2 separate regions of the Homo sapiens genome follow, and region 2 is linked to region 1. The links are contacts of gene promoters, found by promoter capture Hi-C in blood cells and fetal thymus (Javierre and others, 2016). All regions are on one chromosome and are shown on one strand. Each heading gives the region's core, a stretch centred on a gene start or on the middle of the fragment in contact. The rest is flanking DNA. Distances are from core to core; before and after follow the strand shown. Region 1 holds the start of ODF1 (outer dense fiber of sperm tails 1). Region 2 overlaps UBR5 (ubiquitin protein ligase E3 component n-recognin 5).

Region 1 (5,139 bases), core at 2,628-5,127:
ATTCTACTAGCCAGAGTTAACCACAGCTAATTTTTCAGGGTGTTTCTCTCCTTTTTTTTTTTTTTTTTTTTGTGACAGGGTCTCACCCTATTGCCCAGGCTGGAGTGCAGAGGTGCAATCATAACTCAATGTAGCCTAGAGCCTCTGGGCTCAAATGATCCTCCCTCCTCATTTTCCTGAGTAGCTGGGACCATAGGCATGTGCCACCATACCTGGCTAATTTTTAAATATTTTTGTAGAAGATGGGGTCTCACTATGTTGCCCAAGCTGGTCCCAAACTCCTGGCCTCAAGTGATTCTCCCCACCTCGGTCTCCCAAAGTGCTGGAATTACAGGTGTGAGCCACCACACCTAGCCTATGGATTCTTTTTTACAGAGTTCAGGTCACACTGTGTGTATACTTTCATATTTGATGTTTAAGCACTGTGTACTGACCTAACAACTGTTAGAAAAGTGTCTTTGTAACATTGGTCTGGTGACGAGACTTGAGCTGTAGCTGTGCTACCTGCTGGAAGAGGCAGAGGGGACCTTCTTTGGCTCATGATTTCACCAACATTGGGGACCAAGCAAGTGTTGCCCAACTTGGGAAAGTGTCAAGACCTGCCTTCCATCCAGAGGAGGTTCTATCCGGACACCAGCCAAGGTGAATGAGAGATTCCATGGACATAGTCCTGCATACGGAAGGTCCTAGTTCCATATTAGAATCCATATTAAAATCCTTCTGATATGAATAGATCACATTTCCATCTCATCATTAAAGAAGACACTACCTTTATTTAGTCACTTAAAATGATAAGAATATACTTCATGATGAAGAGTAAAATCACTAGGAAGGGACAGGAGTGGTGACTCATGCCTGTAATCCCAGCACTTTGGGAGGCCAAGGTGAGCAGATGGCTTGAGCCCAGGAGTTTGAGACCAGGCTGGGCAACATGGTGAGACCCCATTTCTACAAAAAATACAAAAGTTAGGCAGGCATGGTAGTGCATGGCTATAGCCCCAGCTACTGGGGAGGCTGAGGTGGGAGGCTCACCTGAGCTCAGGAGGTCAAGGCTGCAGAGAGCACATGCCACTGTGCTCCAGCCTGGGTGACAGAGTAAGACCCTGTCTCAAAATAAAAAAAGAAAAATCACTAGGAAGGTGGGATAATGGGAGAATCCTAGTTGAAATATAGCTATACCCATCTTAATAATGTACCATGTATACACAGATGTGTGTATTTAGGCACCTGAACTTGTGTATATAATAATATTAAACTGAGAGCTTGCCTGCTTCAATCTTTGCTGACATTTGCTAAGGGATAGAATTCAAGGTGATATAAGAATTCTCTGTCACCTGGAGCTAGAGAAATCTGTACAACTCCTGCAATTAACTCTCAGGAAAGAGTAGGCCATATTTCTATTAATAGGGTCCACCCCTCAGAATCAAATCACAGTGGAATCACTTTTAAAGAGGTCAGAATTTGTCCATAGAGGAGAATCATTCAGCTTTGCTTTTTGACTCATTCCACGTGACTCAAGGGGCCAGCCTCTCATTCTAATGCCTCTAGGGACACTTGTTTGCTAAGACACATTATCTGCACAGAAAAGGGCCTCCTAAGTCAAGGCTGGGGAACATCGAGCCATTGGGAATGCCATGCTTGGTCTAGTGACTCCCAAGGGACTCCAGCTGAGGGGGCTGTCGCCCTCTGTTACTCCTTCTATGAGCCTTTCATGGACTCCTTCACTCTCCTCATTTCTACTTATTTTTCCCTGGGAGTCGGCTTCAGCTCTCTTTTTAAATTCTGAATTATCTTGCCTGTTTCCAGGGTTCCAACTACCTATGGAATTGTGGCTTCCTAATTTATATCTCTAGCCCAGGCTTTCCTCAAATTCCAGACCCTCTTATCCACAGAATACTCCAGATTTCTACCTTAAAGTTGTCACCAGCACCACCTGTTCACCAAATCCCCAAACTTACTCTTCTCCCTGTGTTATTTTTATCTCAGTGGCACCAAGAGTCTGCCAAGCTTGAAAGCTGGAAGTCACCACTGATTCCTCCCTCACTCCATCCTCACTCTGTTCACTAAATCCTGTTGAATTCACCCAGATGGTCATTCAGTGAGTACATTTCAAGCACCTGCTATGTGCCAGGCATTGTGTTAGGTATCTACTGCGAAGCAAAAATAGACAAGGTCCTTGCCCTCGTGGCTTACAGTCCAGCTGGGGAAACAATATCATGAAGGAAATGTATCCTAAGTTAAGAGAGTGTTTAGTCTGGGAGACAGAGAAGGCTTCCCCAAGAAAGGGGGAGATCTAAAGGGTGCCTTAAGAATTAAATGGATGAAAGTCATAGGTGGGGAGTTCAATTTCTAAGCAGGCAGAACGTCCTGTGTATGAGCTCTGAATGAGGTGGAAGGAATGAGGAATGTCCTTCAAGGGACTAAGGAACGGCCTCTGGAAAGTGAGTGGTCTTCCAGGAAGGCCATCGTGGCTGAGGGGTAATGAATTGCAATAATACTAGGATGGGAGAGGAGAGTGGGGAAGTGGGAGAGGCCCCATTGCTCAGCACCTGGTAAAGATTTTGGTCCTTTTTTTGAGAGGACAGAGAAGACTTTTAAGGTGAGTGGGATGATGGGTGGGGAAGGTTGAGGAATGACAGATTTCTATATGAAAGTCGCTGTGGCTACAATGTGGAAAATGGATTAGATGGGGCCTGGGCAGAGGTGGGGGAAGGCTTTCCCATTGGCTTCCTCCTTGCCATCCCCATAGCCATGATCCCCAGTCCAGATTTTTGTTGTCTCTTCTTGTCTTGCAGCAGAAAACCCCACTACTATTGTCCCTAGCAACTTACCTTCAGTGTGGCTGTCTCACTTCTGACAAAAGAAAAGAAAATCAACAATCCTTCGTTGGGCTCAAAATAAAGTTCAGAGTCCTTAGTCTGGCTACAGGTCCCTTCAAACCTGGCCCTTGTCTCCCTCACCAGTGTCACATCCAACCACTTGTCATCAATACCTGAGCTCTAGTTCATACAAGGGAGACTCGAGAGCTGGACCGCAGTTTGAGGTGAAAGGACCAGAGGAGTAGAGGCACCGAGAGCCAAATCTGAGGCCGAATCAGAGGTCTAGGATGTTAACTGAACAGAAAGTAAAGGAAACTGGCCGAAGCGGGGGTTTCAGGCAGTTGGCTTCCAGCATCTTCAGGCGGTTGGCTACAAGAACATCAAAGACCAACATTTGGGAAGCACTCAGGGACAAGACATCCGGAGGCTTGGATGCAAGACCAAAGGTGTAGTTGATGGGAGGTAGTTCCCCAGGACAGGCCCCCGAGGACTGACAGATGGGAGCTTAAGGACAGGACCCCCAACCAGTAGAGAAATGAGGTTCCCGAACAGCCATGACCACAGCTGGCGCAGAATGGGCAGGACTCAGAGACTTGTAACTCAGAAGGTCAAGGACAATGGCTGACTTGAGGATGACTTGGTAGGAGGAGAATGATGAGAACATTCTTTATATTCTACCTGTCTGGAGACAGAATGAATTCTAGAACAAAAGGAGCAAGGCCAAGCTTCCAATCAAGGCTAGAGCTAGAAGGTCATGGAGAAAGGCGTGGGCAGCTCCTGCCTTCGCCTGCACCAAGTTCAACAAACACACAGTCATAGCCATGGCTGGTCCCCAGAGCACACACAAGGCAAGGATGTTAGTGGCCAGCCCCATGCACCCCGATGAGCTATGCTCGCTTGGGAGACCCATCCTCCTTGAAGGTGAGTGAAATCTCAACACGAGTATGGTTCTGAGAGTAGCTCTGTAACTCTGAGGATGGTCTCTGGAGACCATGACTGTGTACAGTTCACATGGTAACCAGAAGACTATGACATACTTCAGAAGGTGGTGAGGTCATAGAACACAAGCTTTAAAGTAAGTGAATCATGTGTGCCTCATTTATTTTTAAAAGCAACTTCTGAGAAGGGCTTAGAACAAATTTTTTCCCGGAGTGCCATTTCCCAAAGGTACTCACAGAACAATCAGGTGTGACCATAATGGCTGCACTGAGTTGTCTCTTGGACAGTGTCAGAAGGGACATAAAGAAGGTGGACAGAGAACTAAGGCAACTGAGATGCATCGACGAATTTAGCACACGGTGCCTGTGCGACTTGTATATGCACCCCTATTGCTGCTGTGACTTGCACCCATATCCGTACTGCTTGTGCTATTCCAAGCGATCACGCTCTTGCGGCCTGTGTGATCTCTACCCATGTTGCCTGTGTGATTATAAGCTTTACTGTCTGCGACCATCTCTCAGAAGTTTGGAGAGGAAAGCCATCAGAGCCATAGAAGATGAGAAGCGAGAGCTTGCCAAGTAAAATAACTTATTTTTAAATTTTTATAGTCGGTATATTAGCCTTATAAGTTGGAATAAGGAAAAATATGTGACAATCAATAGTTGAACAAAGATTAAAAGGGTTCAGGATAATGACCCTGGTGACTTAGGAAAGATTTAAGGAAAGAAGAGTAAATGAGTCCATGATGGGAATTGTAGGGTTCTCAAAAGACAATGTAATGATGTCGATTGGCAAGGTCGTCGGTGGTTTATAGCAAGAATGCCAGTATGATAAATAATGCGGCTTTAATGAAGGGAAGAAACAGGGGGTGTCATTAAAAAGCCATTGGAAGCAGCAAACTAAACATTTTTCCTGGTTATGAGTAAAGTGATTTGAGTATATTTGGACTTACAGAAATGACTACAGGAGAAGTAATAATAATAGATCAAATCCTTAATGTGTGCCAGAGGCTTTACAAGCAGGAGAGCAAATTGAACAGTAGAGGCATTGCCTTGGTTTTGTGGGAATATCATTCTCCTATCCCCCCACTCCAGGCAAAGACTTACCTTGTATCTGGAATTAGGTCTATCATGTTGGCCTCCCCTCTAACTCTAGCAAAGGTCTTGCAAATAAACTATGGCACTGAGTTGTAGCTTTCAGGATAGACTTGAAAGGCTTTTTAATTGAATTGGGTAATTAAAAAGAGTCAGTTTTTTAAAAAAATTTTTGTTTTAGATTATATTTTCTTTTTGCCTGGAGAAAACTTTCCTTTTCTAACTTTTTACATATGCCATTTAGTCTGTTACTGTTGATGAAAAAGATGGTTGAAAGTGCTGTCCCT
Region 2 (5,217 bases), core at 2,543-5,042, 290 kb before region 1:
TTAAAGTTCCAAAACTGCAAAACTTTGCACTACTTATTAAACACCAATTATGGGGAGCAGCCGGCTCTGAACTTAATATACATCTTATTAATTCTTGATAGTAACATAAAATATAGATTATTAAATCCAGATGATAAATCTGACACTCAAGGAAATTTAGTAACTTGCCCCAAGGTCACTTTATTGGGTTAAACTTGGGTCTATTTAATTAGCTGTTTCCTAAACCCTGCTGAAGACTCAATATATCAACAATTTTATGTTGCCAAGCTTTGAGTCTAGTTCTTTAAATAAGAACATTTTAGCTGGAACACTTTAAGAATTTAATAGGGTCAGAGTTAAAAAGAAAAAATCATAATATGATATTCTTGTACTAATAGAAAATTATTCATCAGTAGGTCTGATTAAAGAGAATTATTAGGAGGCTACAGCTTTAACATGCTTATTTATCAGATGTGTGACATGTACCTCCGGAAAAAACTATAACATAAATCCTCAAAGCCATTGGCTGGATGTGGTGACTCACACAGAGGCCGAGCTGGGGGAATCACTTGAGGTCAGGAGTTTGAGAAAAGCCTGGCCAATATGGTGAAACTCCATCTCTACTAAAAATACAAAAATTAGCCGGGCATGGTTGTATGCGCCTGCAGTCCCAGCTACTTGGGAGGCTGACACAGGAGAATCACTTGAACCTGGGAGATGGAGGTTTACAGTGAGCCAAGATCACACCACTGCATTCCAGCACGGGCAATGGAGCGGGACTCCATCTCAAAAAAAAAAAAAATTAATTAATTAAAGCCGTTGATAGGTTCTTAGCTGTAACTTTGAAATGACAAACAGCAGGTTCTCAAATAACATCATTTCATTATAATGTTGATAAGAAAAAACTGGTTTCATTTCAATTAGAGTTGCAGTTTCCAAGAACCTATTGACGACAATAAGAACTTACTCAATCCCAGCTACTCGGGAGGCTAACTCATGAGAATCACTTAAACCTGGGAGGTGGAGGTTGCGGTAAGCCGAGATCGTGCCACTGCACTCCACCCTGGGTGACAGAGTGAGACTGTCTCAAAAAAAAAAAAGAAAAAAATAAAGGCACTTAGTCTATTCCATTTGTTTTGTGTCAAGTAATTTCTCTAAAATATTTTTAGGAACGTGGGTAGTTTTCTTTTAAATCAAAAGCTGCATAATTAGCATTGTATATTAATTTTAAAGCAAACGGTTTTTCTTTTCCCCCTGCCATCATAAAGGGAGGTGCAGGCTACCAAACTATCAAAACACATAAAGATAAGCTAATTCCATCATCCAGAGATCAATACTGAGCATGCTGTGTTGTACTTCTTACATTCTTTGGCCACCCCCATGTACCTCTTATAGGTATTTTTGAAGTTAGAATGCTCTATTTTTTTTTTGTTTTGTTTTATGAGATAGGGTCTTGCTCTGTCACCCAGGCTGGAGTGCAGTGGTGCAATCATGCCTCACTGAAGCCTCAAACTCCTGGGCTCAAGCAGATCCTCCTATCTCAGTCTCCCAAGTATAGCTGGGACCACAGGTGCATGCCACCACACGCAGTTAACTTTTAAAATTTTTGGTAGAGTCAGAGTCTCGTACGTTGTCCAGGCTGGTCTCAAACTCCTGGGATCAAGAGATGCTTCTGCCTTGGCCTCCCAAAGTGTTGGGATTACAGGTGTCAGGCATAAGCCACCGTGCCTGGCCTGGAAGGCTCTTTTCAATACCACTACCTTCTCTAACACCAGGTACAACTAATAATAGTGGATACAATTTACCAATCACTTACTATTTGCCAGGTACTTACGATGTTGTGTTTCTTACCAATTTATAAATGGGGAAACATGGCAGAAATGTCAGCATATTTGTTTGCAACAGGACGTAGGTCTGTCAGACCCCCCAGCCCCACTTGTGTTATCTACTCTGCTATGCCATCTCCCCATAGTCTTTTTCTGTCATTAATTTATTAATTTTATTTTTGTTGACCATAATTGTATAATTAAATGTTTTAAAGTTATTTATAATGGCTGTAATGCTTTAAGATTTAATAGTAAATGAATGTTATAAACAGTATGCTAGCGTTTGATTATTTTATAAAAGAAAATTTTTGCAATTGTGAATACAATTAGGTTCATCAAAATCACTTACTTTTCTACCAAGCAATACTTTAATTACATGTCTATTCAATGTGATAGGACATAGTTCATTCTGTAACAGACATAGTCCAAGAATCCTAAAAACAAACACAGAGAAATAAGATTTAAATAATTCTAGAATACATATATCCCCCCACACATAATACGTATTAATATTTTGAGAAATTCTCTACAGCCTCCTTTCTATTCAGCATAAAGTACAGCACATACACTTTTTCAAAAAACAAAACAAAACAAAAAAAAACAGGAACACCAGCCTGAGAATGTTTTGTTTTTGAGACAGGGTCTCACTCTGTCAACCCAGGCTGAAGTGCAGTGCCACAGTCAGGTCATCCTCCTACGCCAGCCTCCCAAGTAGCTGGGACTACAGGCATTGCAGCACAATGCCCGCTAGTATTTTTTTATTTTTAGTAAAGACAGGGTTTCGCCATGTTGCCCAGGCAGGTCTCCAACTCCTGGGCTCAAGTGATCCTCCCAGTTCAGTCTCCCAAAGTGCTGAGATTACAGGTGTGAGCCACCGCACCCAGCGTACATACATTTTAAAACAAATATATTTTAGAAAATCTCATAAATTGAAATGTTTTAAAAAATTCAAACCCAAGATTAAAGTTCTTTTACCTGCCAATGTTTCTGAAACAATTCAACCTTGCTTCTGTGTTCTTGCCAGGCCTTGGAGTATAAAATCCTCTTTTCCCAGGTTGGTAAAACAAAGGGGCATTGTCATCACCATCATCTGTATCATCTAAATCCATATCTACTACACTTCGACTAGAGCCATGGCGCTTTCGGTTTTCCTGCTAACAGAGAATATCAGAGAGTAAGCCCCAAGATTCACTGAAAAAACAAAACATATGAAATGGTTCTCTCAAATCATTCAAATGAAGTCAGGTAGGAAGAGCAACATAAATATTTAAATATATGTGTATAACAATATTAAAGGTAAATGAACTTTTAATTTGCCCTTTCAGAATGTGACACACAAAGCTTGTGTATTATTAGGTCTTTAACGTCTCTGTTGTTAAAATAAAGTCATTTAATGAAACTCGGATAAGCTTCTTTCACTTTATTGCCTGAAAATTCTTTTCACTGGATACAGAATTCTGTCATCACTTTGATGAGTTTGTTGACTTTTGGCTTTCATACTTTATAGTGAGAAATCCACTCTTTCAAATCACTGTTTCCCTATAGGTAAAGAACCATTCTTTGGCTGCTTTCAATAACATTTCTTTATTTTACAGAAGTTTGATTATAATGTATCTGGACATAGTTTTCTTTCAGTTTATTCTGTTGAGTTCACTGACTCTTGAATCTGGAAATCTATGTCTTTTACCAAATTTAGGAAGTGCCCAGCCATGATTTATTTCTTCAAATATTTTTTCTATAGCAATTTCTTCTCTTCCCCTGAGTATTTCAGTGACATATATGTTAGATCTTTTGAAGTTGTCCCACAGGTCTCCCTGAAACTGTCCTTTTGTTTTAAAATATTTTCTCTATCTGTTCTTCAGAAAGGGTAATTTCCATCTATCTTCAAGCTGACTGACACTTTCCTCCAACACCTTCATTCAGCTATTGATGCATCCTGTGAATTTTTTTCTTTTAGATATTGCCCTTTTAATTCTAAAAATTTCCCTTTGTTCTCTTTTGAAGTTCCTGTGTGTGTCTGCTGAGAACCTCTGTCTTTCCATTCACCAGTGTTCACCATTATCTTGCAGAACATGGGATAGTCTTTGATAATTCCAACAAGTGGGTCATCTCGTGGTTGCCATCTATTGGTTCTTTTCCTGAGAGAGGTGGATCCAGTTTTTCCTGGTTCTTTGTAGGCTGAGTAATTTTAGAGTGTATCCTGGGCATTGTGAATTAGTTGTGAAAACTCTGAGTCTTAGTAAATTAATATGAATTTAGTAGGCAATCAACCTACTTAGGTTCAAATTGGAAGTCTCACCTTCTATGTGCAATTGTTTCAATGCCAACTAAAAAGGCTTCCTTATGCTATAGCATGATATGTCACTTGTTTTTGCAATGTTGGCACCAGCTACTTCTTTGAAGAATGAGTCCCAGGAGTCCTAGAACTCCTGATCTCGTGATCTGCCCACCTCGGTCTCCCAAAGGGCTGGGATTACAGGCGTGAGCCACCACACCTGGTGAATTAGTCCTAGGATTCTATACATCTTTCCCTCTCTGTTCTTCAATTTGTTACTTATTCAAAGTAAAGCTTAATTCAAGCTGTGCTCAAATGGATGCCAACCAATGGGTGGGATTATACTGAGCCCTAATTAAGCCAAGCTTATTATTTGATTCTATGCATAATACCGATATATTTATCTTTGCTTCTGTCTCTCTACTGTAAACATTCATTTTATTTATAAAGACAGTTTCTTCAGAAATCCTGCTTTCATCCCCTTTATTGAAATTTCCTTGTAATTTAAATTCTGTGATTATCAGCACATGAATAAAATGTTCCTTACCTGTACCTTTTCTGAGGAGTCTACTAATCCAAGATCCAGGATACTATCAGCTCCATTTTCCCTAAAAACAAAAAGCCTTTCACATTCCAGATAACGGAGACTTCTAGAATTTAGCGTATAATTTAAATTTAAAAGGACTTACTTACAAAATACATTCAAGTTTTGGAGTCAATAAATATCCAATGCACCTGCTAGTACTAATGCAGTATGAGCAGAGAAGTTGGTAATACAAATCTTTAAAAAAGTGTATCACTAGATCCTTCATGTATGATTCAAGATAGTGGACTAAAGGCTCCCTGACAAAATGAATGTGGTCTTCATAGGGGTGCTGGAACACTTCTACAATGCTCAGAGGGAGCACTACAGAAGAACAGAAAAATGTTCAGAAAGCAATCCAAATTCACTAGCAAATTCTCTAGCGAATTTAATGATTCTAGAACACCAATAAATTCACTGTTTACTCCAGAAAGCCAGGTGAAAGCTGTCAATATTGTACATTGGTTGCATTCAACAGAAAACATGACTAAATACGCAACTCTTAACATATACTCACAAAAATCTTTTCACCAAAAATGTACATTGTTCTTGAT

The links. The method cuts DNA at HindIII sites, captures the fragments that hold promoters and counts their contacts. A CHiCAGO score of 5 or more calls a contact.
Region 2: a fragment that was not itself captured here is called in contact with the fragment with the promoter of ODF1 in region 1 in 1 of 17 cell types (endothelial precursors); the score reaches 5.2 in endothelial precursors.

The regions. Positions count from the first base shown.
Region 1 is chr8:102,547,712-102,552,850 of GRCh38, forward strand. It overlaps ODF1 (outer dense fiber of sperm tails 1), which reads left to right and starts at 3,878. Exons shown (of 2, transcript NM_024410.4): 1 at 3,878-4,336. The coding sequence starts at 4,017. LOC124901998 (a long non-coding RNA gene) reads left to right here. Exons shown (of 3, transcript XR_007061039.1): 2 at 1,987-2,098; 3 at 2,796-2,885. It overlaps LOC105375684 (a long non-coding RNA gene), which reads right to left and starts at 2,917. Exons shown (of 2, transcript XR_928478.3): 1 at 2,832-2,917. The HindIII fragment of the contact is 343 bases long and covers 3,543-3,885 here.
Region 2 is chr8:102,262,320-102,267,536 of GRCh38, forward strand. UBR5 (ubiquitin protein ligase E3 component n-recognin 5) reads right to left here. Exons shown (of 59, transcript NM_015902.6): 52 at 4,628-4,688; 53 at 2,781-2,959; 54 at 2,155-2,239. Among named protein-coding and RNA genes, the nearest start is that of UBR5-DT, 25 kb to the left of the region's middle. The HindIII fragment of the contact is 1,160 bases long and covers 3,213-4,372 here.